Linked DNA regions of Homo sapiens: all the other regions are linked to region 3. The links are contacts of gene promoters, found by promoter capture Hi-C in blood cells and fetal thymus (Javierre and others, 2016). All regions are on one chromosome and are shown on one strand. Each heading gives the region's core, a stretch centred on a gene start or on the middle of the fragment in contact. The rest is flanking DNA. Distances are from core to core; before and after follow the strand shown.

Region 1 (7,615 bases), core at 965-3,464, 210 kb before region 3:
ATCGCTTGAACCCGGGAGGCAGAGGTTGCAGTGAGCAGAGATTGTGCCACTGCACTCCAGCCTGGTGACAGAGCAAGACTCTGTCTCAAGTAGTAATAATAATAATAATAATAATAATAATAATAATAATAAAATAATGACAACCCTGGGTAAGAAAAGCAACAGGAGAGGGGTAGGAGATCAGGGAGAAACAGAGGCAGGGGCCAGCAGACTGTGATGGCAGGTGCTCCTCCACCAAGACTGGCAAGATGGTGGGGATCCACAGCCTTCCCCTAGATGACACATGCTGAGAATAAAAATTCATGGGTATTAATAATGAAGGAGGTTTAAAGGAAACTAAGGCTTTTTTAAGGTTGAAAAGGAATCCATGTCAAAATTCAAATGTAGCTACATATTGCATAGGAAGTTAACATTTTCCCCTAATTGTTTTGTTACAAAGTAGTAACCCATTCTCATAATTGTTTATCTTATTATGAGAGAGGCTGACTGTCTAAATGGGCTGCCTGCCTAGGTGAAGCAGAGGAAGCTCAATCTGTGACTCACCAGGAGACAGAGCAGACCAGCCACATTCACAAAGCAAAAACTCCCTAAGCATTGGGTGCTCTGACAGTAAGCTAATATGCAGCTGTATCAAAACTCAATACTCTTTACTTTGAATGCAAAACCTAGCATACAAACCATGATGTCCACTATACAATAAAATTACCAGACATGCAAAGAAACAGGAAAATATAACCCGTGGTCAAGAGAAACAAACACAAAGATAACCTAGATGTAAGAATCAGCAGAGCAGGTTGGATTAGGCCATTTTCATACCACTGATAAAAGACATACCTGAGACTGTGAGCAAAAAGGAGTTTAATTGGACTTACAGTTCCACATGGCTGTGGAGGCCTCAGAATCATGGTGGGAGGCACAAGGCACTTCTTACATTGGCAGCGGCAAGAGAAAAATGAGGAAGAAGCAAAAGTGGAAACCCCTGATAAACCCATCAGACCTCGTGAGACTTACTGTGACAAGAACAGCACAGGAAAGACCGACCCCCATGATTCAATTACCTCCCCCTGGGTCCCTCCCGCTACATGTGGGTGATTCAATTACCTCCCCCTGGATCCCTCCTGCAACATGTGGGAATTCTGGGAGATACAATTCAAGTTGAGATTTGGGTGGGGACACAGCCAAACCGTATCACAGGGCTTTAAAGTAATAGATGTGGAAAACACAGAAGAAGGTGTAGTGAAGATGTGGGGTATTTCAGGAGGGATGGAAACTATAAAAGAACTAAACAGGAAGCCTAGAACTGAAACATAAGAGTCTACAATAAAAGATTCATTGGATGGTGCAGCCATGCACCACATAACGATGTTTTTGGTTAACAGCAGACCACATACACAATGGTGGCCCCCTAAGATTACAATGGAGCTGAAAAATCCTCATCGCCTAGTGACATCGGAGCTGTCATAACACTGTAGTGCAATTACTCAATTTTTAATAAACTCACTGTAGCCTAAATGTATAGCGTTTACACAGTCTACAGTAGTGTACAGTAATGTGTAATGTCCTGGGCCTTCACATTCACTCGCGACTTACTCACTGACTCACCAGCAACAGCTTCCAGTCCTGCAAGCTCCATTCATGGTAAGTGCCCTATGTAAGTGTACCATTTCTTAATTTTTATACCATATTTTTACTGTACCTTTGCTGTGTTTAGATATACAAATACCATTACGTTACTGTTGCCTACAGTATTCAGTATAGTCATATGCTGTACAAGTCTGTAGCCTAGGAGCAACAGGCTGTACCATATAGCCTAGGTGTGCAGTAGGGGAAATCATCTAGGTTTGTGTGAGTACACTCTATGATGTCCCTACAAGGAGAAAATCACTAATGCATTTCTCACAACGTATCTCCACTGTTACATGATGCATGACTGTATAACAGAGTGGATACAGCAGAAGAAAAAAATCTATGAACTTGAAGACAGATCAACAGGAGATTTCCAAACTGAAGCAAAGAGACAAAAAGACTGACAACTCTGATACAAATATCTAACAAGGACATCAGAAAAATATGATAAGGGCCGGGTGCAGTGGCTCACATCTGTAATCCCAGCATTTTGGGAGGCCGAGGCAGGTGAATCACTTGAGGTCAGGAGTTCAAGACCAGCCTGGCCAACATTGTGAAACGCCATCTCTACTAAAAATACAAAATTAGCCAGGCGTGGTGATGCGTGCCTGTAATCCCAGTTACTCAGAAGGCTGAGGCAGGACAATCGCTTGAACCTGGAAGGTGGAAGTTGCCATGAGCCAAGATCATGCCATTGCACTACAGCCTGGGTGACAGAGTAGGACTCCATCTCAAAAAAAAAGAAAAAAGAAAAGAAAAATACGATAAGGACATCACAAGAGTATCTAACAAGGACACCACAAGAGCGTTACAGACCAAAATGCCTACCATCAAAAGGGGCAACGTCCTCCTCAAAACATTAGCAAACTGAATCCAGCAAAATAAACACAGACAATACTAAAGAGGCCCATGGACCAACTGGGGTTAATTTAATGCCACTGCACTCTATATTTGAAAATGGTTAAAATACCTGGGAATAAACCTAACAAAAGATGTCCAAGGCCTCCACACTTGAAACTTCAAAAATCACAATATTGAAATGAAAACATGTTCACAAAAATATGTGAAAACAAATGTTCATGGCTTTATTTATAATTGCCCCCAAATGCTCATCAATAGGTGAATAAACATATTGTAGTACATTCATACAACAGAATACTTCTCAATAAACAGGAATGAAGTGCTGTATAGTTAACCAGAATAAATCTTTCAGACATTACATTTAATGAAAGAGGCCAGACATAAGAGTCTCCAAACAAAATGTCAACAGCACAAGGCAGGAATTTTTAGTTTTTATCTGTTGCATTCATTGTTGTATCCTCAATGTCTTGAATGGGACCTGGCGCACAGTTGACCCTCCACAGAAATTTGTTAACTTTTTTTTTTTTTTTTTTTTTTTTGAGAGACAGAGTATTGCTCTGTCGCTCGCCCAGGCTGGAGTGCAGTATCACGATCTTGGCTCACTGCCACCTCCACCTCCTGGAGGTTGATTCTTCTGCCCAGCTTCCCAAGTAGCTGGGACTACAGGCAGTCACCACCACACCCAGCTAATTTTTGTATTTTTTAGTAGAGATAGAGTTTCATCATATGTTGGCCAGGCTGGTCTCAAACTCCGGACCTCAGGTGATAAGCCCACCTCAGCCTCCCAAAGTGCTGGGATTACACGCGTGAGCCACCACGCCCAGCTGAAGCTGAAATGTGTTAACTGAATGAATGATTTCCTTGAGAATTAGACGCTGTATATTACTCTCTGCTTCCAAAATGAAATACTCTGAATATCTGACTGTACTGATAACAGATGTGGCAAAAACATCCACTTGATCCAACTAAACATGCCCAACACCAATGTTTGATATCATAAAAATCCAAGTCAGCAGAACCTTGGAAATACTGGCTTTTGCAATGGCCACCTCTAAGGCCAGGATCACATAAGGTGGCCAGAGGCAGAGAAGACAATGGCTCTGAGGGTGCCAGTTCCCTGGGAAGTAAATTTTATTTTCCCCTACGCTGTTCAGGTGGCTAGTCCCTCCCAGGTAAGCCAAACACTTTCCCCCTTGGAAGGTTGCTGTATCCTTGAAAAACCCTGAAGTCAGTTGGTAAAAGGCTCTCACTGTGCATAATATGGTGTAAGAGCTAGCCCCTGGAATCCACGGGCTCGGGTGGAAACAAAACAACCTAAAGCGGCATTCCATGTGTGAGTGCACATCAAGTGTGCACATTTTCATTATTGTTGAAATGCAAATATCCTGTGTCACCATATGGTCTCATTTATTATTTATTAATTATATTATATATATATATTTTTGAGACGAAGTCTCGCTCTTTTTGCCCAGGGTAGAATGCAGTGGCGCGATCTCGGCTCACTGCAACCTCCACCTCCTGGGTTCAAGCAATTCTCCTGCCTCAGTCTCCCAAGTAGCTGGGATCACAGGCATCTGCCACCATACCGGACTAATTTTGTATTTTTAGTAGAGACGGGGTTTCTCCATGTTGGTCAGGCTGGTCTCAAACTCCCGACCTCAGATGATCCACCCACCTTGGCTTCCCAAAGTGCTAGGATTACAGGCATGAGCCACCATGCCCAGCCTATTTTTTTTTTTTTTTTTTTTTGAGATGGAGTTTTGCTCGTTGCCTAGGCTGGAGTGCAATGGCGCGCTCTCAGCTCACTGCAACCTCCACCTCCCTGGTTCAAGCAGTTCTGCCTCAGACTCCCAAGCAGCTGGGATTACAGGTGTGTGCCACCACACCTGGCTAATTTTTCTATTTTTAGTAGGGATGGGGTTTCACCATGTTGGCCAGACTGGTATTGAACTCCTGACCTCAGGTGATCCGCCCACCTCGGCCTCCCAAAGTGTTGGGATTACAGGCATTGAGCCACCGCGCCCAGCCTATAGTCTGCATTTAGAAATGTGTATCTATTCTCGAATTATCTTACTGATGATTGTCTATTTAGTCACCTACTGCTTGTATCACATAACCTTAAATTCAGTTTCTAGCTTTTATTCCGGTTCTGTACTATGGGATTTAAGGAAAGTTGTATTTTCTAGAAAACAGAACTTACCATAAAAAGATGTCACTGAGAAAAAAATTAGACTGGCTTCCCTCCTTCAAGTTCTGTCTGAATTAAGTTGAACTTGATTAGGTTGGTGGTCTGAGGGCTTTAATATCAAATGCCAAATGTCAGCCTTTTGCCTGAGTTTGTCAGCAATAAGGTGGCTTGGTTTTTTTGTTTGTTTATTTATTTATTTATTTTTTAAAACATGGAGTCTCGCTCTGTTGGCCAGGCTGGAGTGCAGTGGTGTGATCTCGGCTCACTGCAACCTCCACCTCCCAGGTTCAAGCAATTCTCAGGCATCAGCCTCCCTAGTACCTGGGATTACAGGCACGCACCACCACGCCTGGCTAATGTTTGTATTTTTAGTAGAAAGAGGGTTTCACCAAGTTGGCCCGGCTGGTTTCCATCTCCTGACTTCAAGTGATCAGCCCGCCCTGGCCTCCCAAAGTGCTGGGATTACAGGCCTGAGCCACCATGCCTGGCCTGGCCTGGTTTCTGCTCACGTCATTTCTAATTACCAGCTTCTTACTTGGCACTTTCAATTTTATAGTGCTGTTTTCCTGTAATTAGGATAAACTCTGAACTAGACTTATGAAAACTCCCCGAAAATAGCAATGGAAGGAGTTTGGGCTGGCAGCTGGCCGAATTCCGTGTAGACACACTTGGCGAGCGGTGCCTTCGAATCATCCACTTGGCGAGAGGTGCCTTCAAATCATCCACCTGGAGAGGCTCATTATGTGGGTGAAACATATGGGGCTGGAGCTGGGGAGATAAGTCAGACTTGAAAACAAGGAGTCCCGGGTCACAAACATCTGGATGGAGAACGGCTGAAGTCTTGGAATTAACTGATTCTTGTTCCCATAAGAAAATAACAGGGCCATGGCCCCAGGAAGGTGATTTCCCAGAGGCCAATAATTAACATAACTTTTCATTATTCAAAAGAATAACACACTTTCCTTGAGCAGGTGTGTGTGTGTGTGTGTGTGTGTGTGTGTGTAGCACAATATGCATGCACACACCTGTGGGCCATGGGGTGGGTCCAGGACAGCAACACACGCCAGCCAAGGGCTCTGGTGCTCTGACTTCGGGAAGGCAGCACGCCCCACCCCACCACTTCCCTCCCACTAGAAGCAGGACCTGTGTATGGGCCTATACTCATCTAAATGTGCCACGTTTCAGCAGAGCAGGAAAAACAAAACCCACATATGAAATATGAGACAGGCAGCCTAGCATTAATCTCCAAGCACGACCAACACTGCCGCTGAGTCAGCTTGGATAACCCGGGCCTCGGAAGGTCCATCTGTGGAGGCACCGCCTTTTCTTCAAGCTTTGTTCTCCATATACACACCCTCCTCACCCCCAATTAAACAGGGATAGAAGGGAAAGCAATGTCTTATGGTGGTAAATCCTTTAACCTTCAAGGATATCCACCTCCCTCAACATGCACAAGCTTTAGTCCCACACATCACAGCGCTCACGCGTGTGGACAGGCCAGGGCAGCACCCAAGGAAGAGCCACGAGTGGAAGGCCTGAGTTAGCAACCATCAGAGTTCATGGCTAAGAATCCATGGTACCATGTCTTGCTGTCACGCTGCACACAGGGCTAAGCCAAGGCGATACTACTATTCGCTGTTCAACTCTCCATTTATACAGACAGGACACACCTCTTGACCAACAATGAAAGAATGCGAACTGTTGTGCATTTTCTATAGAAGTGGCCCAAAAGAGGTGTCACTGATTGATAAACTGGTCGAGTAAAAGAATCAGAGAAACTGTGGATTATTGTTTTAAGCTCACTGATTCTCTCCTATCTTTGGTTAAGGTCCAGAGATATCGTAAGCATATCATCACGGTGGGGCGGGGGAGGAGTCAGTCTACTGAAACAGAATCAGGGTCACTGGGGAAAAGAAACTCATGGCTGCAGAAAGATGACAGCCAGTGGGCTGCTACTACACACTACAAAGTCAAAGGATGTCCTCGTGTGGAAAAGCCCTCTGCCAGAAAGCACAGTGGTGGTTACCAGAGGCTGGGACTGTGGAACTGGGGAGATGTTGGTCAAAGGATACAAAATTTCAGTTAGAAGGAGGACTAAGGTCAAGAGATCGGTTTTACAACATGACTATAGTGAATAACAATGTATTGGCAGATCACCTGGGGTCAGGAGTTCGAGATCAGCCTGGCCAATATGATGAAACCCTGTCTCTACTAAAAAACCAACCAACAAACAAAAAAATTAGCCAGGCATGGTGGTGCACGCCTGTAATCCCAGCTCCTCGGGAGACTGAGGCAGAAGAATTGCTTGAACCTGGGAGGCGGAGGTTTCAGTGAGCCAAGACTGTGCACTGCTGCACTCCAGCCTGGGCGAAAAAGCGAGACGCTGTCTCAAAAAAAAAAAAATGCCAAAGAGAATAGACTTTAAGTGTTTTCACTACAAGAAAATGATGAGTTGTCAAGTGAGACATATGTCCATTAACTTGATTTAGCCATTTCACAATGTACACATATATCAAAACATCGTGTTGTACACTGGAATATAGATAATTTTTATTGAATACATAAAGGTGGGAATAGAAAAAAGTATTTGTAGAAAACTTTAATTCCCCCATGGAAAAAAAATCCAAAAGATACTTCAGGAAAAAATAATGAAAAAGTTCAACAAAGTTGTGGGTGTAAGATTTGTATTTAAAATTTAATGCCTTTCTCAACCACCACTAGCACACAATTTAAAAATAAAATTTGGGAGAGAAAGATTATCAGTATCATTAGCAGAATCAATGAACCACCTGGAAACATACTTAAGAAAGATATGCCGGGTCGTCATGGAGAAAATTATAAAACTATATTGCAAAGGGCACAGAGGCCGGGCCTGGTGGCTCACGCCTGCAATCCCAGCATTTTGGGAGGCTGAGGCGTGTGGATCACCTGAGGTCAGGA
Region 2 (7,107 bases), core at 985-3,484, 170 kb before region 3:
CCTTCAGGCAATGGCAGTGCAAGATGAGCCTCAGCACAGGGCATTTGGAGGACATGGAGAGCACCTGCATGTCCCAGCTCACCTTTCAGAGTTGGAATCGGGCCGTCCTGCCCATCAAGGGGTCCTAAAGGGTCGTTCGGATCCAGAACCTCCACTTCACCTGGGAAAAAGAAACCAGGATAGGTATTAAACAAGTTTTCCTTTCAGGAGCCTTTAATTTGCTTCTTATGCAAAGACAACAGCATTCTAGCAAAACTACCCAGTATTTGTAGAAAACACAGAGGGATAAGACATTATGGTAACCTCTAGAGGGATTTTATAGTGATATAAAGATATGATGTAACAGTAAAAGTGATTTTGAAGCTTATCACAAGAATAGCAAATGCGGGGGCTTTGCAACACAGGTATGGAAATAAGTCAGTGGAGCCTGGGCTTCATTCAGAGAGGGACAGAGAGCGGGAAGGAGAGGGAGAGAAAGAAACCAAAGCACTGGCTGGCAAAATCAAACACTTCTGTAGCCAGATGCCGCAGACTGCCCTCCAGATGGAGGTCCTGGTAACTGGGTAATAAATTCAGAGTTGGAGAATTTCTTAAGCAACTCATTCCCCTCCCCATCCCCAGACCCACTGGCAGCAGCCAAGTACCCACCCCACAATGTAAAGGACATAAATGGGCGCTGTGGCTTTTCACTTCCATTCTTCCTATCATTTCTAGTCCAAATTTACCCGTCCCCAAAAGCCAAGCCCTGAGCCATCTTTCATAAAATGTCCATGACCAGCCATTTAGAAGAAAAGTTTCTATTCTCTAAGTCTCCCTGCAAACCATACACCTCTCCCGGGGCAATCCTACCATTCTTCCTCAGGTTAACAGTTGCATGCATTTTACTCTTCCTCAACAATAGGTAAACCACATGGGGACAGCTGGTGCTGCACCCCTGGGGGAGGACGAGTGGTCCCATCATGGAAACCCAGACAGAAGCACCTCCTGCTACATAACAGAGGCTGACATCAGCTATGCAAGGCAGTCCATGGACTTCTGCTGAAGTATTAAAGACTTCAGTTTGGATTTGAAATTTTACATCAGCACATTACACACACCATCACTCAGCACTGTTTAAATGTAGAGAGACCACATGAAATCAAACATACTTGCACTATATACACACATCGAAAAGAGACAAAAATTATTAACTGCTTAGAAATTGACAAATGGTCTGAAACACTCAAATAAATACATACCCCAAAGAAAAATAAGCTTCACTAGCCCAATTTCCCTGTGGAAAAGAGTCCTAGCTCTTCCCAAGTCAGCTTCTAATTCAGAAATGGAGGCATTTTCACGTGTGGAAATTTCACTTCCTCTGCCAGTCAAATGTGGTTAATAAACTCAGCATGTCCAATCACGAGATCTTTAGAACTGACACTTTAAGTTTCAACAAAACTAGGTTGTTATTGCTAATCTGAGAAACTAAGACACCACTTATATTTCGAAATTTTAAAGTGTTATCTTCCTATACTACATAGTTTGGGCTCACTCCAGATACTGCAGCCTTCTAAAGTCAATAAGCAAAATGTGACAGGAAGTATGTGAACTAGTAGAATGGGTACAAGTGAAAACAGGGCTCAGTGTTTTCAGCAGAACCCAATAGGGTTTCTCCTAACCCGTAAAAAGAGCTAAGAATACCACCTTTCCTCCAAAATAAACAAAACATGGAAATAATAACAACAAAACTGCCACACACACACACACACACCCCATCATCATCATCATCATCATCAAAATGTTATTATTAGTTATCTGGAATTATAGGTAATTTAAATTTCTTTTATTTCCATTTAAATGGCTCTACTGTGAACAAGTATCAATTTTTTAATGGTGTGTGAGACATAATTCACACACTATAAAATTCACCATTTTAAAGTGTGCAATTGAGTGGTTTTCAGTACATTCTCAAGGTTGTGCAACGATCACCACTATGAAATTCCAGAACATTTCATCATCTCCCCAAAAAACCTCATTCCCATTAGCAGTCATCCCCCCGCCAACTCTATCCTGTCTCCTTCAGCCCCTGGTAACCACGAATCTGCTGTCTCTATGGATTTACCTATTCTGGACATTTTCTATAAATGAAATCATATAATATGCAGTATTCTAAACAAGCATCAATTTTATAATTATACTTTTCAAAATGCATGCCCTGTAGTAGCAAAAAGAAAAAAAAAGAAGAAAGCATGCTGTACCACGGGATTAGTAAACAAGGCCATTAATTTGGCTCACTCAGACCACTTCCCAGACTCGGGGGGTCTGTCTCCACAAGGAGAAGGGGATGTGGAAAACATACATGAGGCCGCAGAGATGACTGAAGTATGAAAGGGAGGAACTACCCCAAAATGCCAGAGCTACTAGGATTGCTGCTCCCAAGGTGGGGCAATTTAGGAGCAGCCAGGCTGGCCTGGTAAGGAGACCTGCACATGCCCTCACTCCTGCTGCACACAAGCTGGGAGGAATGGCTGGTGACTCGCAGGATCAGGGAACACTTTCAACTTGGCCAGTTTAGGGGCCACCACAACGGATGTTGCAATGGGTACACATACTGAGCACGTGCTTCTGCACCTAATGGGCTATCATCGTTCCTGACCGAATGACTTTGTGACAACCTCACAACACCACAACTTGCCTTGGTGGTGACTGCCAACCCGATATGGCTGGTGAATGATCACGGTCGTGCGCCCTGCAACATCTCCTCGGTGCCTGTCCTGAGTCATTCTTTACATAAAGGCCTTTTCGGTTTTCACCTGGTGCAGGCACCCTTGCACCCCAGCTAGATGATGAGCTCACCAGGCAAGGTCCCTGTCCTCGTTAGTTGCCTGGATTTAGCTGGAGGAGCAAGAGAAGAGGCCACGTGGCCTTCTGGACCATCAGAAAAGAGATTCTGAGAGGAGATTCATCTGTCCTGACTCTTCAGGACTTCAATATATTTTTCTCCTGAATATGAGGACACTACTCTAGCCAAACCCACACGTCCTCCGTTTGGGTAAAATGCTCTTAAGTGTGCCCTACATGACCATCAAGAATGTCATCCGTATGACAGGCACAGTGCCCTGACTTTTCTCCGCTGGACCTGGGTCATTTTCACTGTAAAAACATCACAGAGTGGCGAGGTGAAGCCAGAGGGAAACTCAACCCTTGGGTAGATGAGTAGGGGAGTAGTGATTTATAAGCTTCTTTTAGTTTTTTGATACTTTTTAAAGAGAGGAAAACATTTAATATGAAACAAAAATTTAAGTGTGGCTGGTATAATGAAATGACACATTCAATATCTAGTTTTATCCATGTCAAAAACACACATGACACTCTAGAAGCAAAGACTAAATATAATGTGGTATCCTGGTCAGGACCCTGGAACAGAAAAGGGATATTAGGTAAAAACTAAGGGAAAATGAATAGTGTGAACGTTAGTCAAGAATAATGCACCCGTATTATGGGGCAAATGTACCATGCCAAGGTAAGGTGTTAACAATAGGGGAAACTGGGTGTGGGGTGTGTGGGGGCTCTATGTACTGTCATCACAACTTTTCTATAAATCTAAAACTAAAGTAAAAAGCTTACTGAAGAACAATTACACATTTCCATCACCTTGTTCAATCCCTTAAAACCAAGGCTCACAAGTAGAACTGCATAAAACATTCTACCTCCAAACACTTATACTTTTCTTTTTTTTTTTTTTTTTTCGAGACAGAGTTTCGCTCTTGTTGCCCAGGCTGGAGTGCAGTGGTGGGATCTCAGCTCACTGCAACCTCTGCCTCCCGGGTCCAAGCGATTCTCCTGCCTCCGCCTCCCAAGTAGCTAGGACTGCAGGTGCCCACCACCACGCCCGGCTAATTTTTGTATTTTTAGTAGAGGTAGTGTTTCACCATGTTGGCCAGGCTGGTCTCGAACTCCTGACCTTAAATGATCCACCCACCTCAGCCTCCCAAAGTGCTAGGATTACAGGCATGAGCCACCGTGCCACCGTGCCTGGCCAATACTTTACATTCTTAATGATGCAATCCCTGGTAAATGGCCTCAAAGCCAAGTATGCACCCTAACCCTATGAACAGAATCTGACACAGATTCACTGGATTTAATATGTTATTCAATGATTTATACAGCATGCTGGCAAATATTTAGAAATTAAAACATTTTGGAAAATGTTGGATTTTTCAGCTGAGTCCTACAGGAATTGTCATTGGCATGGAGACATCAGCTCTTAAGCAGGAATTTGTAGCATATTCTTGGAAGCACTTTATGAATGTCTTGTATATTCCAGGCTGAACCAATTGGTGTCTACAGAATGGCCAAAGTGAAAGGGTTCACTGTTGATAGGGATGATGCCCGGTTGCTGTTAAGAGAGTCACATCAGGCCTGCAATAGCTGGAGGTGCAGATTCTGAAGAATTAGAAATTATATAACCAGGCCAGGCACAGTGGCTCACGCCTGTAATCCCATCACTTTGGGAGGCCAAGGCGGGTGGATCACGAGACCATCCTGGCTAACACAGTGAAACCCCGTCTCTACTAAAAATACAAAAAATTAGCCGGGCATGGTGGCAGGAGCCTGTAGTCCCAGCTACTCGGGAGGCTGAGGCAGGAGAATGGCGTGAAGCTGGGAGGCGGAGCTTGCAGTGAGCCGAGATCACGCCACACTACTCCAGCCTAGGCGACAGAGCAAGACTCCGTCTAAAAAAAAAATGAAAGAAAGAAAGAAAGAAATTATATAACCATCAAACAAAACTCTTCTGAAAACCTTCTTTCAACACAGACCTCTGATGTGACATCTTGATTTATGGCATCAACAAGATAAGATTAATTGGGCTGGCGTGGTGGCTCATGCCTGTAATCCCAGCACTTTGGGAGGTCGAGGCCTCGGGTGGATCACCTGAGGTCAGGAGTTTGAGACCAGCCTGGCCAACGTGGTGAAATCCCATCTGTACTAAAAATACAAAAATTAGCCAGGCGTGGTGGCAGGTGCCTGTAATCCCAGCTACTTGGGAGGCTGAGGCAGGAGAATCACTTGAATCTGGGAGGTGGAGGTTGCAGTGAGACAAGATGGTGCCATTGCACTCCAGCCTGGGTGACAGAGCAAGACTCCATCTCAAAAAAAAGATAAATTTATATCTGCAAAGTAGCAAGCACGTCTGTTCTGATTCCAAGGCTCTACCTCTAGTATCACAATCATTCTCTCATTAACAGCAGTCACACCATTAAGCAAGCATTTATTAATGAAGTTTCACCTATGCCCTTGGATTTGAGTCCATGGTGCTATTCTGGTTTTGATTTGCGTTTCTTTTAAACATGCTTTGTTATTCAGACTGTTCATCCATTCATCTCTTCACCTGTTGATCTGAATCGGTATGCTTACTGTGATGCAATTAGATGCAGTCTTCAGGATGTTCAGACAACTTCAAAGCAGCCTCTTTTTAATTAGTAAGGGTATTTTATTCACCAGAGCTTGGCATTCTTGGATTTGGTTGTCCTCATGTGAAGGTATAATTTGCAGGATGTGTTTAAGAACAGAAGTCACGGCAGGGAAAAAGCACAGCCTGAGAAAGTGACGGTGCTGCAAACCAGACACCCCCTGAATGAATGGCAAGGACAGATTTCACAATGAGCTACGCTGCGAGCAAGCTCTGTGCACCCACTGTCCCACTTGCACGTGCAAATGTCACTCATGTGTTCCACAACAACTACTCAGCTCGGCAACACGTCAGATCGAAAACACCCATGATGCTAGAAAGGCAACAGTTAAGGAAGAAAAGTTAAAAATTGGGAAGGAGCAGCGTATAAAGTCCCGAAAGGGTAAGGCCATTATTAGTCTGGGACCTGGGTCAGGAGAAGTATGTCAATAGCAAAGAGCCTTGAGACTGTTTCGGGGAATGCTCTTACTAAGACACTGCACCCTGTGTTTCAATTGCAGCTAGAAAACCAAACAGCATTCCAGGTGGGCTGCCAGTACCTAATTGGTAGTGGTCTTAACAGTCTGTAATTTTTTATTTTCATTATTTCTAACTTTGAGTTGAGTAAATACTAGCCTCTGTTCTTATATTCCTTCAAGGGCTGGCTTAACTCTACTTTGGAAATAGGGAGTTAAAACTCATCAACTTGAAAATGGAGTAACCGTTTCACCAATTTGAACTTTGCTGTGATTCCACTTCTAAAGCAAACGTATTAAACCTCCAAGTGAGTCAATGTACCAGCCCAACTCCCTTCAATATTGCCTTCATAAAGCTCTTTCTACTTTCTGTCTCTGACAGCCCCCAGAGCCCCCAACAAAAGCCCACTGTCAGGGGCCAAAGGAATATTTAGGTGAAGGGGGAGAGAGGCCACTCAGGCAGCTGAATTGAGGCCTTTCACAGACCTTCTCTCTTCCCAGCATCCACAGCCCTGGCAGCGGTGAGCCTGGCCGGGCTGGGAGGCCAAATGCCGCACCTCCACCCCCACCAGATACAGTGAGAAGGTGAGGTCCCCTCCCTGTGACAGGGAGCTGAGGCTTGCTTTCTCTTAAGTGGCTGCTTGTTTCTGCACCAAAACCAGCAGAAAAGGAGCAAACAGAAATGCTAAGTAAAGGCTCCAGGTTTATTGTATCTTTTCATCTAGTTTCAAGGAAGTAGCTCTTGAATATTAGTTACTCCCATGCATACAAAAGGTTACTTTGTCACCTTGAATCTCTGGAAAGTTTTTAATTAAAGGGAGGGATGTAAAAAAGAAAAAAAAAACACCCTGATTAGAAAAGAAACTGCATTATCCTTTGGCAGCAAAAGCAGATGTCTTCCATTTGCTTAAGGCTTTTCAGGGGTGTCCAATCTTTTGGCTTCCCTGGGCCACACTGGAAGAAGAATAATTGTCTTGGGCCACACGTAAAATATACTAACACTAACGATAGCTGATAGCAAAAAAAAAAAAAAAAAAAAAACCCTCATAATGTTTTAAGAAAGAAGTTGTGTTGGGCTGCATTCAAAGCCGTCCTGGGCTGCATGTGCCACGGGTTAGACAAGCTTGCTTTAAGTTAAGGCCAGGTCTGGAGCAGGCTCCACCTCCATCAACCAGGAATCCAGGTCCCAGGCCATGTAGC
Region 3 (7,485 bases), core at 3,193-5,692:
ATGATTTTAAACAGATTACACCCCAGACATATTTTATGACAACTGCACACGCAAGCAAAGCTGTCCCGCCCTCGTTTCCAACTTGGCAAGCTCTTCAACAAAACCAAATAAATACATGCTAGAAAAAGGCGGCTGCTACAAAACCCCGGCCAGTTGCAGCTATAATTAATGGGCTGGAGCGCCTCTTGTTGCTTGGATTTTTACTTTCAAAACTCAAGAAGCCCACACTACCCACTGAAAGCCTCAACAGTGTTATGGTGGTGTTGTGGGGCAAAGCAGAACCTAAGAGCCCAAAGGGTCACTGAGAAGTAATGTTTTCAAAGCCAGTCCCTTCAACCCAACAGTCCCTTCATGAAATTGCTATTGGCCATGCAGCTGGGGTGCAACCAATAAAAATCCAGACCTAGCTAGCAATGCTTCCACTGCAAAACAAAGCCCCCTGGTTTCTTTACTTTGAAACCTTACATGCTTGGTATTCTCCACTTGGTGGTCACCACGGGGCTCCCAAAAAGGAAATATCCTAATGACAATGTATGGAGTCACAACCAATGGGCAAGAGCAAGGAAGAGCCCGCCCCGAGGAGCCCCCAAGGAGGCACCTCAAGGTAAACCCAAAATTGGGCTGCCCAGCCCTTCACCACGTGGAAACCACAAGACGCTGATGGGGTGTGGAAGAGGAGGAGGAGGGAGTCCTTCACAGTGTCCCCTCCAGGTTCCCAGGGAATGAACCAGATAAACACCAAAAGGAAAGGCCTGTCATCAAGGAACCATTTTAGAAGATGGTTATAAACCCTGGGAAGGAGTAACAGTTTGTAGCGTTAACTTTCTTTTCCCTGACTACAATGTGGAATTATATAATTAGAACTCTCCAAGGGAAAGGATTACAAAGAGTACACAAATTTCCAGCACTACAACAGACTAGCCAGGTCCTGCAGATTAGGGAGCTCAAGTCCTTCACATCCAGTTCCCATTTCACTAATAACTTTTCCCATCCTGGCCTCTCAGGGAATGCATTTTAAAGGAGTGCCAGTCCACCAGCTGAAACCTTTCTAAAGGGGATTAATCTTCCCTACCTGTCAGATGAGCTGTTCGTACCCCTGTATTTCTATTCCACTGATTTCAGAAGAGCTTCCAAAGAAAAGAGCAGTGTAAAATTCAGACTCTGCCAGACTTAATCTCTTGGAGGTTAAATCCAGGCTAACTGTTTAAGGGGCAACAAGTGATTCACTGCAAACCACACTTAAGAGAGAGACATACAAACACCAATTACAGCAGCACTTTGAATAAACAATAAAAAAAAGGTTTCACAATAAAAATAAAAATGTTGTTTAACATTGCCTTAAAAATCTGCAGAGCAGTCACCAAAAACTACCCCTGGAAAACGCACATTTTAAAAAACCCATGTTGCTTTTTTACATATAAAATATAAAGCAGACTTGTCAGTTTTCCATGATTTGCTTTACTAATTAAAAGTTCAGCTTGGCTTTCCAGAGCCCTCTCAGTTACACTGAGTGTCACATAGGGTCCACGGCGATCAGATTTTCAGGGTGACATGCTTTATGAAGTGGACATGAGAGTTAAGCAGGATCTCACAATTATACTGAAAAATTTCAAATGTGTAGCTCTGTGCTTGGTACACAGCCGTAATAAGAAAAATATGTTGCCTTACTATATACATAAAAACTTTTCTTTTTCCACAAAGTCTTCTTATTCAAGATGTTTCCATTTATTTTCTTCTAGATGGATTTCTTCTAGACGGATCACTATCATTATTTATTACCACCATCACTCCAGGGATCTGGGCCAAAAGTAAACACTACACTGCCAAAAATGGGGGCTGGGGGGACCCTAATGCTCCATCGTTCCCCACCTACCCTACCTAGGATTGGTATATAGTCCCAAATCAGTATTTGTCATCAGAGGAAACAGAGTCTTGCTATTAAAATGTGGAATAAGAACTTACAAATCCTTTTAGAAAAACCCCTAAATAGTTTTACATAATAAATTATTTCGTGGATAAAACACACTCAAATAACAGGGACTCCTCTTTTCACAGCAGAAAAGATCCCAAACACTCAAATCTCCTGTAATCATATAATTTTATTATTATTTTGAATAAAAATTATCATACTCTTTGGATTTTGTTAACCTAGCCATACAGAACGAAGAGAATTATATCCTATGCCCTCTCCTATAAAGATTATGAGTATTTCACTAGAAAAAGAACAGGGTTCAAAAATTAAAGAAAACGACTCCAATTGCTTTGTTCATATAAGACATTTGTACATTCACTGGAAACTATGAGTGTTTAAATTCCTTCACCCAAAACTCAAGGAACTTTCCTGTTACAACCACCTTGGCTTAAGCAATGGACCCATCATGCTTTCCTCATCACCCATCTAAAAACCCCCACCACAGCACCGCCCCTCAAAGGCTGCGCTCAACCCTCATGGTCTGCAAGGCAGAGTTTTTGTAGGACAATTAACCGCAGGGTGAACAGCAAAAGCCGCCCAACAGCACGTCCAGCAACGTGTTTAAGCCGCCTCCCCGCCACCCCTCTCCCCCAGCAAAGGGATCTCCTGGGAGATTCTTGGGGGAGGGGTTGCAGAAATCGACAGAGGTCTTGAGTGATGGATACCAACTTAGAATGTGGTCTACTTATTTTATTGTGCACTCTGAGCGGTTTATGCTTTAATGCACAGTGAGATAAACGCAAGCTCCCTTCCCAAATCAAGTAATTAGGAATGTCTGACGTAATCAACATCTGCTTAAACTAAAACCCCCCCCCAGGAAAGACTGTGCAGCCTTTCTGACTCGCGTACCTTGGGCCGGCTAGGGCGGCAGGCCAGGATACCTGGAGCGCGCAGCTCCCAGCAGGACGCAGGAAAAGCAGAGCGTCTCCCAGCCTGCGACTGTCCCGATTCTCACCTTCCTGCAGGAGTGCAGGGATGGGGGATACTGAAGCCCATTTACTAGTAAGAAGTGTCTCACACATTCCGGGGGCTTCAGGCGAACCCCATAGGTCTCTGGCGCTCCTGGGCCTGAAGGCCCCGCCCGCCCTCCTCCACCCCCGCAGGGTGCCGAGAATCCGGCCCGAGGCGCGCGGGCGGGAGGTGCTCCCGGAGTCTGCACCGCCAGAGCTAACGCCGCCTCCTCCAGGCAACCTAGGCAGGTCCCAAGCTGCACTTCCGAACCTCCCCGCCGTTCCTCTGCGCCCCGGATCCAAGCAGCCGAAACCGCGCAGGGACTCGGGGGAAGTGGGGCCCCGGGAGGAAACCCACCTAGGAGCCGGGCCCCGCCCCTCCCGCCGCCAGCCTCCTACAGGTCCCGGGGGTCCCCCCGGCGCGGCCAGAAGGCGGCCGCGCCCCAGCCGCTCAGGGACCCGCGATCCCAGTCACAAACCATTTCAATCCAGATCACACACCACTTCGGCCACCCCAGAGCGGTGGGGGAGAGGAGGTTTCAGGGACCAACAAAAGGGATGCCAAAGAGCCCGTTTCCATCAAGCGGCCCGCGGGCTGGGAAAGTCAGGACCCGGGAGCCGCCGGCGCCCCCACCCCCGCCGCAAGAGCCGCTTCTCCGGGGCCACGTCCACCCCAGGATTCTGCCAGGCATCAGGCCGCCCTGGGGGTGGGGGGACGCTCCGAGACAGACGGGGGACACTCGGGGCCGTGTGCCCTTGAAGGAGGAAGACCTCGGGGAGGAAGCCCGGGTCCTGGGACCCTCGGGGCACATCTGCGGACTCGGGTCCCGGGCCCAGGGCGGGTACTCACATTCACACTCGCACTCCCACTCGCGACCCTCGGGAAGCGCCACCGAGAGGCTCCCAGCCGCCGCCGCCCGCCCCCAGACTCTGGAAACACTTAGGCGTCCCCAGAGCGCGGCTTATTGTAACCAGCCCGAGGGGGTCCGGGGTGCGGGCCGGGAGCGGCGTCGGGCGAGATGCGAATGGCCCTGCCTGGCGCCCCTCGTTCAGGAGCATGGGCGCCGGCGCAGCGGCCGGGAGCATAGTGGCGGCGGAAGGGCTGGCCAAGCGAGCCGTGAGCTACCGTCTGCGCACAAGCCGGAACGCCAGATCCTACCTGAAGTCCGGGACACTGAGAGCAGAAGCGCGGCGGCCGCCCAGACGGCCGGGATGCACAGCAGCGGCCGCCGCGGGAGCGCCGAGCCCCGGGCCATGCCGCAGGCAGTGGGGGCCGGGAAGCCCTCAGAGCTTCGGGCCGGGGCGCGGGGTCGGGCGCCACCACCCCTTTCTACGATGCGTCCGCTCCTCCTTCTCCCTGGCGCTTCGCAAACGGGTCCACTTCGAGGACCTCGTCGTCGTCCTCTTCTCCGGCCCGGATGCGCCGCTCGGCTCCGGCCACGGCAAGGGCTGGCTGGGGAGGTTCCTTGGCGCGGGCTGGGGCGTCCCGCCGGCCGCCAGGACGAGCGCGGGGGGCGGACCGCGGGCGAGCGCGCAGGAGGCAGGGTCCCCGCTCGCCCGCCCCGATGGGCAGAGCGAGGCTTGCGCCGGCGCCCCCTGCCGGGGGAACGCGCGGGCGGCGGGCGGGACCCAAGGAGCTGGGGCTGCAGCTGGGGCCCCGGACCTGCCTCCTGCGCCCGCCCTCGGGCCTGCGCCTCGGAACGCTTGAACACAAAGGTGGCGCCTTGGGGGCGTCAGCCGGAGTTCGGCGGGTCTGCCCACGCAGGAGAGGCGCCCAGAGCGGGTGCCCCCGACTTTCGGGGGCGACACACCCGGGGATCTAGGTCACAAATCAGTAACTCCAGGCTGCACTGCGCACCGGGACAAATCTGAGAGCCACCCAGCCCCAGACACCAGCGGTGAGGCAGGAAGAGGAGAAGCGAAAGTTGCAAAAGGAAATGTTCAGGAAAACAAACAGGCCGCCTTGGCACCGGCGCCCTCCCAGGTCGGTGGGGACAAGCGCGTCCCCCGAAATGCTCAAAACTGCCAGGGGTCGAGCTGCGTGGAGGGAGCCCTCGGGAGCGCGATGCTATCCGAAGCCACCGCGGCTTTTGGTTTACTGTTAAAAGCAAATTGTATAATTTTACCCATTAAAGGCAGAACACTATTTGTTCTCTGCAGAGGCCCAGAATGTGCAGAATTTGCTTCACTTATTAGAGACATTTTGAACGGAATTCAAATAGCATGTTTTCTTGCTTATTCTTGGTTTTGCTCAGCACATGCAAATGTCTTTGTTTTTCCTCTTAGAGGAAGGAATTGGATTCTCCAGCATCTCAGTTGCTTGTTCCATGAGATTGATCTTTTAACTGATTATCCAGCAGTTTGTTTGGTGTTTTTGCTGGAGTACCAAGCTCTGTTAATTGGAGGGCATTAGGGAGAGCCCTGGCCTTGGGTGCCAGACGTGAGGCCTCAGACGTGGCCAGAAATAAAAACTCTCTTGCTATGGTCTGCGGACAAAATGACTAAGCCAGCTCTAGCTTGTTACCTCTGTTAAAAGTATTTAGGCGTCCGGCTATCTCTACCCAATTTGTGTAGGGAAATATCTCACGCAGTTCTCATTCCCAGGAGCTGCTGTAAATCCAGTAGGAGAATGGGAGAAGATCCTAGCCCCTCCTCAACTGGATGGCAAAATTATTACCAAACTTCTTAGACGGGCTCAGGCTGTTCCTCTGCCCAGGCTGGTGCGGGTCTGAACGGGGGGGCTGCTCTCCCCAGTGGTTAGAGGACTGCCAGGGGTTTATCTTTGGGGTTTTCCTCCCTTTAGCTTCCCTTAGAATCCTTAAGGATGCTTTTAGAGTAATGTTTTAAGAGTAGGTGCTGAAGCACTTAGTTCCACACCCCTCTCTTCTGGATCTAGGGAAAACCCAACAGGGGCTGCAGAGAAGGGTCTTGAACCTGCCCTGGAAAACCCCTCCCTCAGCAATGCTGTGTCCTTTCCGTGGTGCTGTGCAGCTCGGAGAAGGTGGTCCCAGCACCTTTGCTTTCCACTTCACACAGCGTGAGCATGTGGCTCCAGAACCATTTCATCAGCAGCCCTGCCATTTATTTTTGTGTGACCTTCAGGAAAATGACCTCATCATGCCCCCATCTGTGTGTTATTTTCACATGACTGAGGCCCCACAAACCCAACTCAAAGGTTTAAACAGCAACATATATTTTGCTGACAGTTTCTTGGGTGGAGTCAGAAATGTGGGTTATATTGCATATGATTTCTTAAAAGCCTTTTAAAGCTTTCTTTTTTGGCATTTCTCTCTCACTCTCTCCTTCCCTTTCTGTAGGTTCTGAACTGAAGGATAAACAAAAAAAGCAAAGTTGGAAGGATGAAAATACAAGCTTTCTCAGTGGTTAAGAGAATATGGCTTACGTCCAAGGCCAAATTGGAGCAACATATTCCTTTCCATCTGTATTAGTCATCAATTGCCACATAACAAATTGCCCCACGATTTAACAGCTAAAAACAGTAAACATTCGTTATTTCACACCATTTCTCTGGGTCGAGAAGGCAGGAGAGACTTAGCTAGATGGTGCTGGCTCAGGGTCTCTCAGGAGGTTGCAGTCAGATGTCAGCCAGTGCTGCCATTATCTGAAGGCTCGCTGGGGCTAGAGGAGTCTCACAAGGTGGATTACTCACATGCTCAGCAAGTTAGTGCTAGGTGTGGATGGGAAGACTCAGTTTGTAGCCACGTGGGCTTCTTGGGCATCCTCACAAGATGGCTTCTAGCTTCTCCCAAAGTGAGCAATCCAAAAGAGAGCCAGATAGAAGCCACAGTGTCTTTTATAGCCTAGCCTTGGAAGTCACATGCCATAATTTCTGCAGTATCTATTGGCTCCATGGGTGGGCCCTTTGTCATAGAAGGAAACTAAACAGGTTTATATATACCAAGAGATAGGAATCACTGGAGGCTGACACCACACCAGCTGTATGGGGACAGCCATTTTCATCCTTGTGATGAACAGCAAGCAAGAGGGAGAGAAAATGAGCAGGGTCTATACTAGCAAGACCGGCGGGAACAAGCCCTTGCAGGCCTTAAGAAAGGAGGGAGCCATGCACATATCTGGGAAGAGTATTTGAGCTGGAGTGAAGAGCCAGTGTGAAGATTTCAAGGCCAGGGGTATCCTGGGATATCTGAGACCTGGGTGGTTAAATTATGTGGTTTAATTCACATTTTCCTGATGAGGAGTCATATTCTATATTTTTTCTTATGCTTATTGGCCGTTAGCCTACCTTCTTTTGTCAGATGTCTAGTCAAATTTTTGCTGATTTATTTTTATTTTTATTCTTTGTCTCCCTCAAATCATGGAATTTCTTTTCTTCTCTGATTTTTTCATAAGGTTGGATGCCTTCTTCTTTTCAAGTGTTGCCCAGGCATGGTGGCTTTTGCCTCTAATCCCTATACTTTGGGAGGCCGAGGTGGGAGGATCACTTGAGCCTAAGGGTTCGAGACCAGCCTGGGCAACATAGTGAGAGCTTGTCTCTACAAACAATAATTTAAAATTAGCCAGGAATGGTGGTGAGCGTCTGTA
Region 4 (7,695 bases), core at 2,013-4,512, 190 kb before region 3:
TGTCGCAGCTTTCTTGCACTTAGGAACACCAGACCACTTCAGTGCTGTGCCTGGGGGCCATCATAAACAATAAAATCACCAACAAAAAGCCCAAATATGCAAGAAACTTGGCACTAAATAGACCAAGAAAAGGCCACATGTTCACAATATGAGGGCAGAAACCAGGGAGCAGACCATCGCCTTGTTTAGCCCCAGCTGGGACACAAATTTTTCACTGCCGTGGGCGTGTGTCTGTGAAAGGCCACAAAAGCACCGTAAGTATTGATTTGGAGGTTACAAATAGACTTTAGGTATTAGGTGAACTCACAATTACGGAATCTGCAAATGATGAGGATCAACTGTGCTTCTCTTTCCAAACACTACATCTAACCCAGGCTGGTCAAAATGATGTAAATTCACGCTCAGAAAGTCCCTCCTCCTTGCCTACCATATCATTAAGCACAAAGCCACAGAAGTAAAATATTAAAAAAAGATGTGTGACAAAACATGGACATCCCCAAACCAAGCTAATCACAGTCCTGTAAATAGAACAGAAGTTACAATGCTGATGAGGGGGAGCTGAAGGCTTTGTCCTGCTGCACCCAGGTCCAGAGCAGACAGAAGCAGTCCCGCGCACACACACTAGGGGGCACACAGGGTCTTAAAGCACCCAGAATGGGGAGTGAGTGGGCTGCTCCTAAAATAGGAGCTGGAAACACTGCCCTGATAAGTGGGGAGCCCAGTACAGCCACAGGCAGGAGCTCTAGGGGGCAACGCAAGGCTACAGGGAACAAGGGGAAGTGAAAGGGACAAAGGAGGAGGGATGTGTGTGAGTATGCATGTGTGGTGTTTGTGTGGTGCACATGTATGTGTGTGCCTGCACACGCAGGTGTGTGGTGTGGTCAAGAGGCTGGAGAACTACTCCGTCTCTTAAGAGGAACATGCAAATACAATTCTGTTAATGTAACATGTAGGGAAAACTAATGTTGGACAAGAAAGTTAATCATCAACATGAACTTACATCAGACAAAGCTAAAACAACACAGCAATCTGAAAATGACTTCAAAACAGATACATCCATGTTCTGAATCTTTTGGCTCATTTCTGGTTGGCCTTGATCCTTTCTTTTCAAGTGAAGTTGAAAGATGGCAGGCATCTGTTGTTACAGATTTAATCGGAAAATTATAGTATTTCTAGTGAACCCTAAGGGTAAGAAGTGTTGTAGGATCCTCCAGCATCTGTGGAGGTGGAGGTGATGGAGAGGTGGGGGAAGCCAGGCGGTGGATTTAAGATGAGGAGACGGTCTTCATTCACGGGACAGTGGAAACGCACCTGTCTGCAGAGTAGTCATTAATGAGCAGAGACCACTACTTATAATTATTATTAACATCATTAGGTTCTACCTGGATACTCTCCTAGCCAACCCTTTTCCATTCACTGAATTAAGTTATAGAAGGTACTTCTTATTGACAACATAAAGCTGGAAGGTCACTAAAATGCTGATGACAATTCTTTAAAAAGATAGGCTGAATCAGGCAGGGTAAAGTTCTGTATGTATGATCTTCATTAACTCAACCATACAGGCACAGCATGGGGAATCTGCATTCCCCATGCTCCCGTCTACTGGATCCCATGTCTTTGTTTCTCTGTTGAATGCAGTATCTAATCTGCTGTGACGATGTGAAGTGGTGGTTTTGATATAATCTGGGCTGCCCATCCCAGCATATCATTTCACTGTGTTCTGGCCAGACTAGCATTGAAAAGAATATTGCTAAATGGCCAGCAGCTATACCTGGGAAGGTGCTGAGGCAGTGGCATATAAAGGCCTGCCCAGGTGGGAAGGGACCAGGATAGAGTCTCACGGACAGCACCACGTTCCAGCCAGGCCTTGAGGCAGCCATCTTCACATTATATTGGAAGCTCAGTGGGACCAGTACTCAGATGGGGCCATCATTAGGTAACCTGATAATTTACAGCTGTCTCCCCAAGTAGGTGAGTAAAATTGAGCCTTCAGAAAGAAATCAGAAAGACAGATAATGGAGAATAACTAGATTATATCCACAGTATCAACGCTCCCAAATTTTTCTCTAACCTCCCCACACTTCTTCCCCACTGGACAGGGAGTCCCTTGCTCTCTCCAAAGCACAGCAAGCTGGTTCCTTGTTGTTCAGTTGGCCAAGGCCACTCCTCAGTGTTCTTTGCTGTCTCTCATGTATCACACCTGCTGAAATGTCCCCTCCATGGAAGGTGTTTTCTGGCTGCCCATCTAAAACAAGCTCTATTCACTTCTAACCTTGCCTTTCCCCTCCCCACTAAATCACTTGGCTTGTTGCTGTGGCAACATCACATTTGTTAAATTATGATGACTGAAGTACGTTTGGACATTAAGAAAAACAACTGTGGGCTAGGTGCGGTGGCTCACGCCTGTAATCCCAGCACTCTGGGAGGCCGAAGCGAGTGGATCATGAGGTCAGGAGATGGAGACAATCCTGGCTAACACAGTGAAACCCTGTCTCCACTAAAAATAAAAAAAAATTAGCCAGGCGAGGTGGCGGGCGCCTGTACTCCTTGCTACTCGGGAGGCTGAGGCAGGAGAATGGCGTGAACCCGGGAGGCGGAGCTTGCAGTGAGCCGAGATCGCGCCACTGCACTCCGGCCTGGGTGACAGAGCGAGACTCTGTCTCAAAAAAAAAAAAAAAGAAAAGAAAAACAACTGTTACTTTTTGAGGGCAATATTCTCAATTTCATTGCTACTTTTCTCTTCTAAATTTTAAAATCATCCCAGCAAGTTCCATTTTAAAAGTAGGACTTTAATGGATAATTTGCATAAAACTACCCACTTCATGATATTGAGAAAGCATGGTCTATGTATCTATTTCAGACCTTCTGAAGTATTCAGAAAAGCTTTGTAATTTTCTTAATATAGATCTTCACATATATTTTTAGGTAGATTTCTAGCTGTTCTCTAATTTTTCTTACTATTGTAAATACTTTTTCTATTATTTCTGTCTAAATGACTTTAGGTTTATAGGGAAACTATTAGATAGCAATCATCTACATAGTGTACTAATTTCCTGTGGCTGCTGTGACAAGTTACCACAAACAGGGGTGTAAAGCAACACATATCTTTCATCTTACAGTTATGGGGGTCAAAGTCCTCATATCCATGTGACACGGGCTGCCTTCCTTCTAGAGGCTCTGTGTGAGAACTGCTTTCCTCAAACCTTGCCAGGTTTCCAATGAAACCAACCCAACAGTCCCATAGACCAGTGGTCCCCAGTCTTTTTAGCACCAGGGACCAGTCTCATGGAAGATAATCTTTCCATGGCCTGAGGTAGGGGCCTTGGTTTGGGGATAATTCAAGAGCATTACATTTATTGTGCACTTTATTTCTATTTATTTATACAACTCACCATAATGTGTAGAATCAGTGGGAGCCCTGAGCTTGTTCTCCTGCAACTAGTAGTCCCGTCTGGGAGTGACAGGAGACAGTGACAGATAATCAGGCATTAGACTCTCATAAGCGCACACCCTAGATCCCTCAGATGCACAGTTCACAATAGGGTTTGAGCTCCTATGAGAAGCTAATGCCACTGTTGATCTGACAGGAGGTGGCGCTCAGGTGGTAATGTAATTGATAGGGAGTGGCTGTAAATACAGATGAAGCTTCACTTTCTCACCTACTGCTCACCTCCTGCTGTGTAGCCCAGTTCCTAACAGGCCACGCACCAGTACCAGTCCATGGCTGGGAGGTTGAGGACCACTGCCATAGACAGTTCTTTTGGATAAACATAGAAATTGACCCTTCCTCAGGAAAGGACCTCTCAAAAAAGTATCAAAGAATTGAAACTCACCAGATCATCACATCACATCCAGACAATAAGACACTAGGCCCCTCCATCATCAGGATGGCTTCCTTACCCCTTCCATGTTCCTGTTTTCCCACACATAGCTACCTTTCTTCCCTGCTATATAAAGCCCTCATTTTAATCAGACAGGGAGATGGATTTGAAGCTGAGCTCCCATCTCCTCAGCTGCATCACCGGATTAAAGCCTTCTTTCTTGGCAATAATTGTTGTCTCAGTGATTGGCTTTCCGTGTGGTGAGCAGCAGGACCTAGACCAAACCCCGGTGTTTCAGTAACATTAGGGACCCCCTCTTTCCTTGGCCAGTGATTCCTCATTGCATCACTCCACCCTCTGCTTCCATTGTCACATCTACTGCTGAATCCAGTCTTCCAGCCCCGGTTTCCTAAGGACCTCTGTGGTTACACTGGGCCTACCCGGATAAGAGAGAATGATCCTCTTTTCTCAAAATAATTAACTTAATCCCATTTGCAAGTTTTTAAAGATCTTGCCACTTTACTCAGCTATCTTAGTTATAACAGTTTCTGAGTTGATTGCCTTGGATTTTCCACATAGATACCATCTTCCTCAAATAACAATAACATAACCTTTTTGCTTTCAAAATTCATATCTCCCATATCTTTTTGCCTAATTGTTTTTTCAACATTCTTTTTTGATTTAAAAATGTTAAATGCTAAAATGCTGCAAACATACAGAAAAAACACAGCTATCAAACAATAACCATGAACAAAACGTATAAAGATTTGACATTAATTTTCCCATATTTCACTTTGAACACTTAAAAAAAATTCTAGAATGCAACCAAAACCTACTCTTGCTTATTTTTCTCCAGAGAACTTGTATGCATCATTCCAATGCATATTTATATTATTTTATGCTTTTAGAAATTTTCCCTGAAAGGTCATATTTGCTAGTTGATTTCACCCATCTATGTTGGTTGATGTGCTCCATTTATTTTAATTACTGTGTAATAGAATAGCCCATTATACAAACAAGCCACAATTTCCTTATCCATTTCCCAGTTGAAGGACTGTAAGCTATTTCCACATTATTGCTATTGTAACATTTAATGACCACCTATATAGATGTCTTGTCCTGTGCATATACAAGAGTCTCTCAAAAGTACATACATGACTGGATAAAGAAAATGTGGTACTTATACACCATGGAATACAATGCAGCCATAAAAAAAATCATATCCTTTGCGCAACATGGATGCAGCTGGAGGCCATTACCCTAAGCAAATTAACACAGGAACAAAACCCCAAATACCTCATGTTCTCACTTATAAGTGGGAATAAAACACTGAGTACACATGGACATAAAGAAGGGAACAACAGACACCAGGGCCTACGGGAGGACTGAAGGTAGGAGGAGGGTGAGGATTAAAAAACTACCTATTGGGTACTATGCTCATTACCTAGGTGACAAAGTAATCTGTACACCAAACCCCCACGGCACACAATTTACCCATGTCACAAACCTGTACATGTACCTCCGAACCTAAAATGAAAGTTGGAAGGGGAAAAAAGTATCCACTTGGATGTGGTGTCATAGAGTCTTGAAATCTTTCATTGATCTGAGTCTCAAAAGTGCTTGAAACAATTTGTACTTCACTAACAATATCTGAGTTAAAGTGCTTCCCTACAGCTGTGCCAGAATTTGGTGTTTGGGTGCTTTAAAATATTTGCCAATCTGATAGGTGCTGCGCTACAGTTTTAGTTCGCATCTTATGAATTCCTCGTGAGCTTCCACATCCTTTGGAATATTTCTCGTCATTGGGGCTCCCCTTGTGTAACTGCCTGTTCATCTCTCTATTCTGATGCTTTTTCCAACTTCTGTAGTTAATTCATTTTATATCTTTTTCCTTTTCTATGTATGCATTAAGTGTAAAATTTTCCTTCCACTCTTCTTTAGCCATCCAATTAATTAATCTTCACATCATTAGTCAGACCCAAATATTGTGTAATATATCTTATGACATTTTTCTTTTAGCTATGAGTTATTTAAAGTGTGCTTTAATTGCACTGTTGTCACAGAACATGGTCTGTGTGATCACAATTCTTTGAAGCCACTGAGATATGCTCCGCAGAGTCGGCTTCCTGAAGATGGTCCACATATGCGTAGTAAGAATGTGCTTATTCTACATTCATGGCAGAGTTTTAAGTGCCCATTTGATCAAGCTTGTTGATTTTGTTTTTCATATTTTTAATATGTTTATCTACTAGATTCAAAGACTTTGCATTTGTCAAATAGCTTTTAGTAATTCTGTCAAGTTGAGTTGATATATGGGAAATGATGGGGCTGGATGCATTCCCAACTTCAGTTTTATTACATCATTTGGTCCATACATCACTAAGCAACAATTCTGCCTAGAAAATCATTTTATCTGATATTATTATAGCCATCCTCAGGGAACCTTTGGTTAACATAGCCCTACTTTTATCTTTTTAATATCTTTATCATTTTTATGATTCTGTATTAGATATAACTCTTATAAGTGGCATATAATTTTACATTTTGAGTCTACATTTTTAACTGATGAGTTTTATTTTTAATATTTCCATTGCCTTTTATTTTTTCTTTCCTATCTTCTATTGGATTTTTAAATGCTCCATTTTTCCCCTCTGCTTATTTGAAAGTTATACATAAGTGGCTAGCTTAACTACTTTTTATAGGCTTACCTAATTTAGCAAAGTCCCCCAATTACAAAAGACTTTAAATGCTATGAGCTATAATCACTTACACACACACACACACACACACACACACCACACACATTGAACTGCTTCCTACTGCTTAGATACACTCTGATTTTAAGCCTCCAATTATTGTTATTTTTACTGTCAGAGTATTTTGAGATCTACCAACTTCTTTCCTCACCAACACATCCTGCATCTCACTCCTTCCTCTTAGGTTCAATTGAGCTCATCCTGAATAACATTCATTCTTTGGGTAAAGGACTAAGGCTGCAAACACTCTTAGTCTTGGTCTGAAAACATCCATGACTTTCACACGTGAATGATAGTTTCGTTGGGTATAGAATTTGAGGCAATACTGTCCTCTGGCTTCTATGGTGACTGTTGGAAGTCCTGCAGTTCTTGTTCCCTTTGCAAGTATTCTGAACTTTCCCCTTCTTAGGCTATTTTCAATATTTTTCCTTTGTCTTTGCCATTCCAAATTGTCTATCATTAATAGTAAATTTATTTTTATTTTAGCCTCCTCAGGTCTCAGTGCTCTTCCTCAAATCTGAAGATTTGTGCTTTCTGTCAATTCTATAAAACCTCTATCAGTATTTCATAAAATATTAAATATCCTTCTAGGTATATGCTGGTTTTCCTCATATGATAATTCCACTGTGCTCTCTCCCTATTTTTAATACTCCTTACCCTTTTTGTCTTTAGCTGTGTGCATCTACCCTGTAACATACCCATCAAGTTTCTCATTTCATGGACTATATCTTTCTTTTCTAGAAGGTCTGTTTGGTTCCTTTTCAAATCCACCACTGCTTTTTCTTCTATGTGGTTTCTGTTTCCTCCTTTCATCTTTAATCCTTCTGGCTTCATTGTTTACTAGCTTGCCACTCATCCTGGGCCTCGACAAGTGTGCTGTGTAATTTTTTTATTGTAAGGCTGGTTTTTCTGAGGGAATCCCTTGAGGACTGGGTTCCCTTGACAGGCAGTGCCAAGTTTTATCTTAACTTTTTGGCTTGGAATTTCCTATAGCATGCTGGTAATGTAAATCTGGCTTCCAGAGATGCCAGTCCCAACTGATTTCTCATGGGAGAGCCTTCTGTGTTTCCCATCTGGAGCCAGGGTGGAGGAAATCTCTCATCTGACCTCCAGGGGCT

What was found. The method cuts DNA at HindIII sites, captures the fragments that hold promoters and counts their contacts. A CHiCAGO score of 5 or more calls a contact.
Region 1: a fragment that was not itself captured here is called in contact with the fragment with the promoter of ROR2 in region 3 in 1 of 17 cell types (M1 macrophages); the score reaches 5.0 in M1 macrophages.
Region 2: a contact is called between a fragment that was not itself captured here and the fragment with the promoter of ROR2 in region 3, in 8 of 17 cell types (megakaryocytes, erythroblasts, fetal thymus and 5 more). The highest score is 24.9, in megakaryocytes.
Region 4: a contact is called between a fragment that was not itself captured here and the fragment with the promoter of ROR2 in region 3, in 5 of 17 cell types (megakaryocytes, M0 macrophages, erythroblasts and 2 more). The highest score is 6.7, in megakaryocytes.

Annotation. Positions count from the first base shown.
Region 1 is chr9:91,741,212-91,748,826 of GRCh38, forward strand. The region is part of intron 4 of ROR2 (receptor tyrosine kinase like orphan receptor 2); the gene reads right to left. Among named protein-coding and RNA genes, the nearest start is that of MIR3910-2, 110 kb to the left of the region's middle. The HindIII fragment of the contact is 7,584 bases long and covers 1-6,006 here.
Region 2 is chr9:91,775,659-91,782,765 of GRCh38, forward strand. ROR2 (receptor tyrosine kinase like orphan receptor 2) reads right to left here. Exons shown (of 9, transcript NM_004560.4): 2 at 83-160. Among named protein-coding and RNA genes, the nearest start is that of MIR3910-2, 140 kb to the left of the region's middle. RefSeq lists an enhancer at 6,487-6,986. The HindIII fragment of the contact is 1,964 bases long and covers 1,253-3,216 here.
Region 3 is chr9:91,945,786-91,953,270 of GRCh38, forward strand. ROR2 (receptor tyrosine kinase like orphan receptor 2) reads right to left here and starts at 4,443. Exons shown (of 9, transcript NM_004560.4): 1 at 4,082-4,443. The coding sequence starts at 4,178. RefSeq lists enhancers at 3,234-3,735, 3,736-4,235 and silencers at 4,429-4,608, 4,722-5,016. The HindIII fragment of the contact is 6,243 bases long and covers 1-6,189 here.
Region 4 is chr9:91,757,971-91,765,665 of GRCh38, forward strand. The region is part of intron 2 of ROR2 (receptor tyrosine kinase like orphan receptor 2); the gene reads right to left. Among named protein-coding and RNA genes, the nearest start is that of MIR3910-2, 130 kb to the left of the region's middle. The HindIII fragment of the contact is 762 bases long and covers 2,882-3,643 here.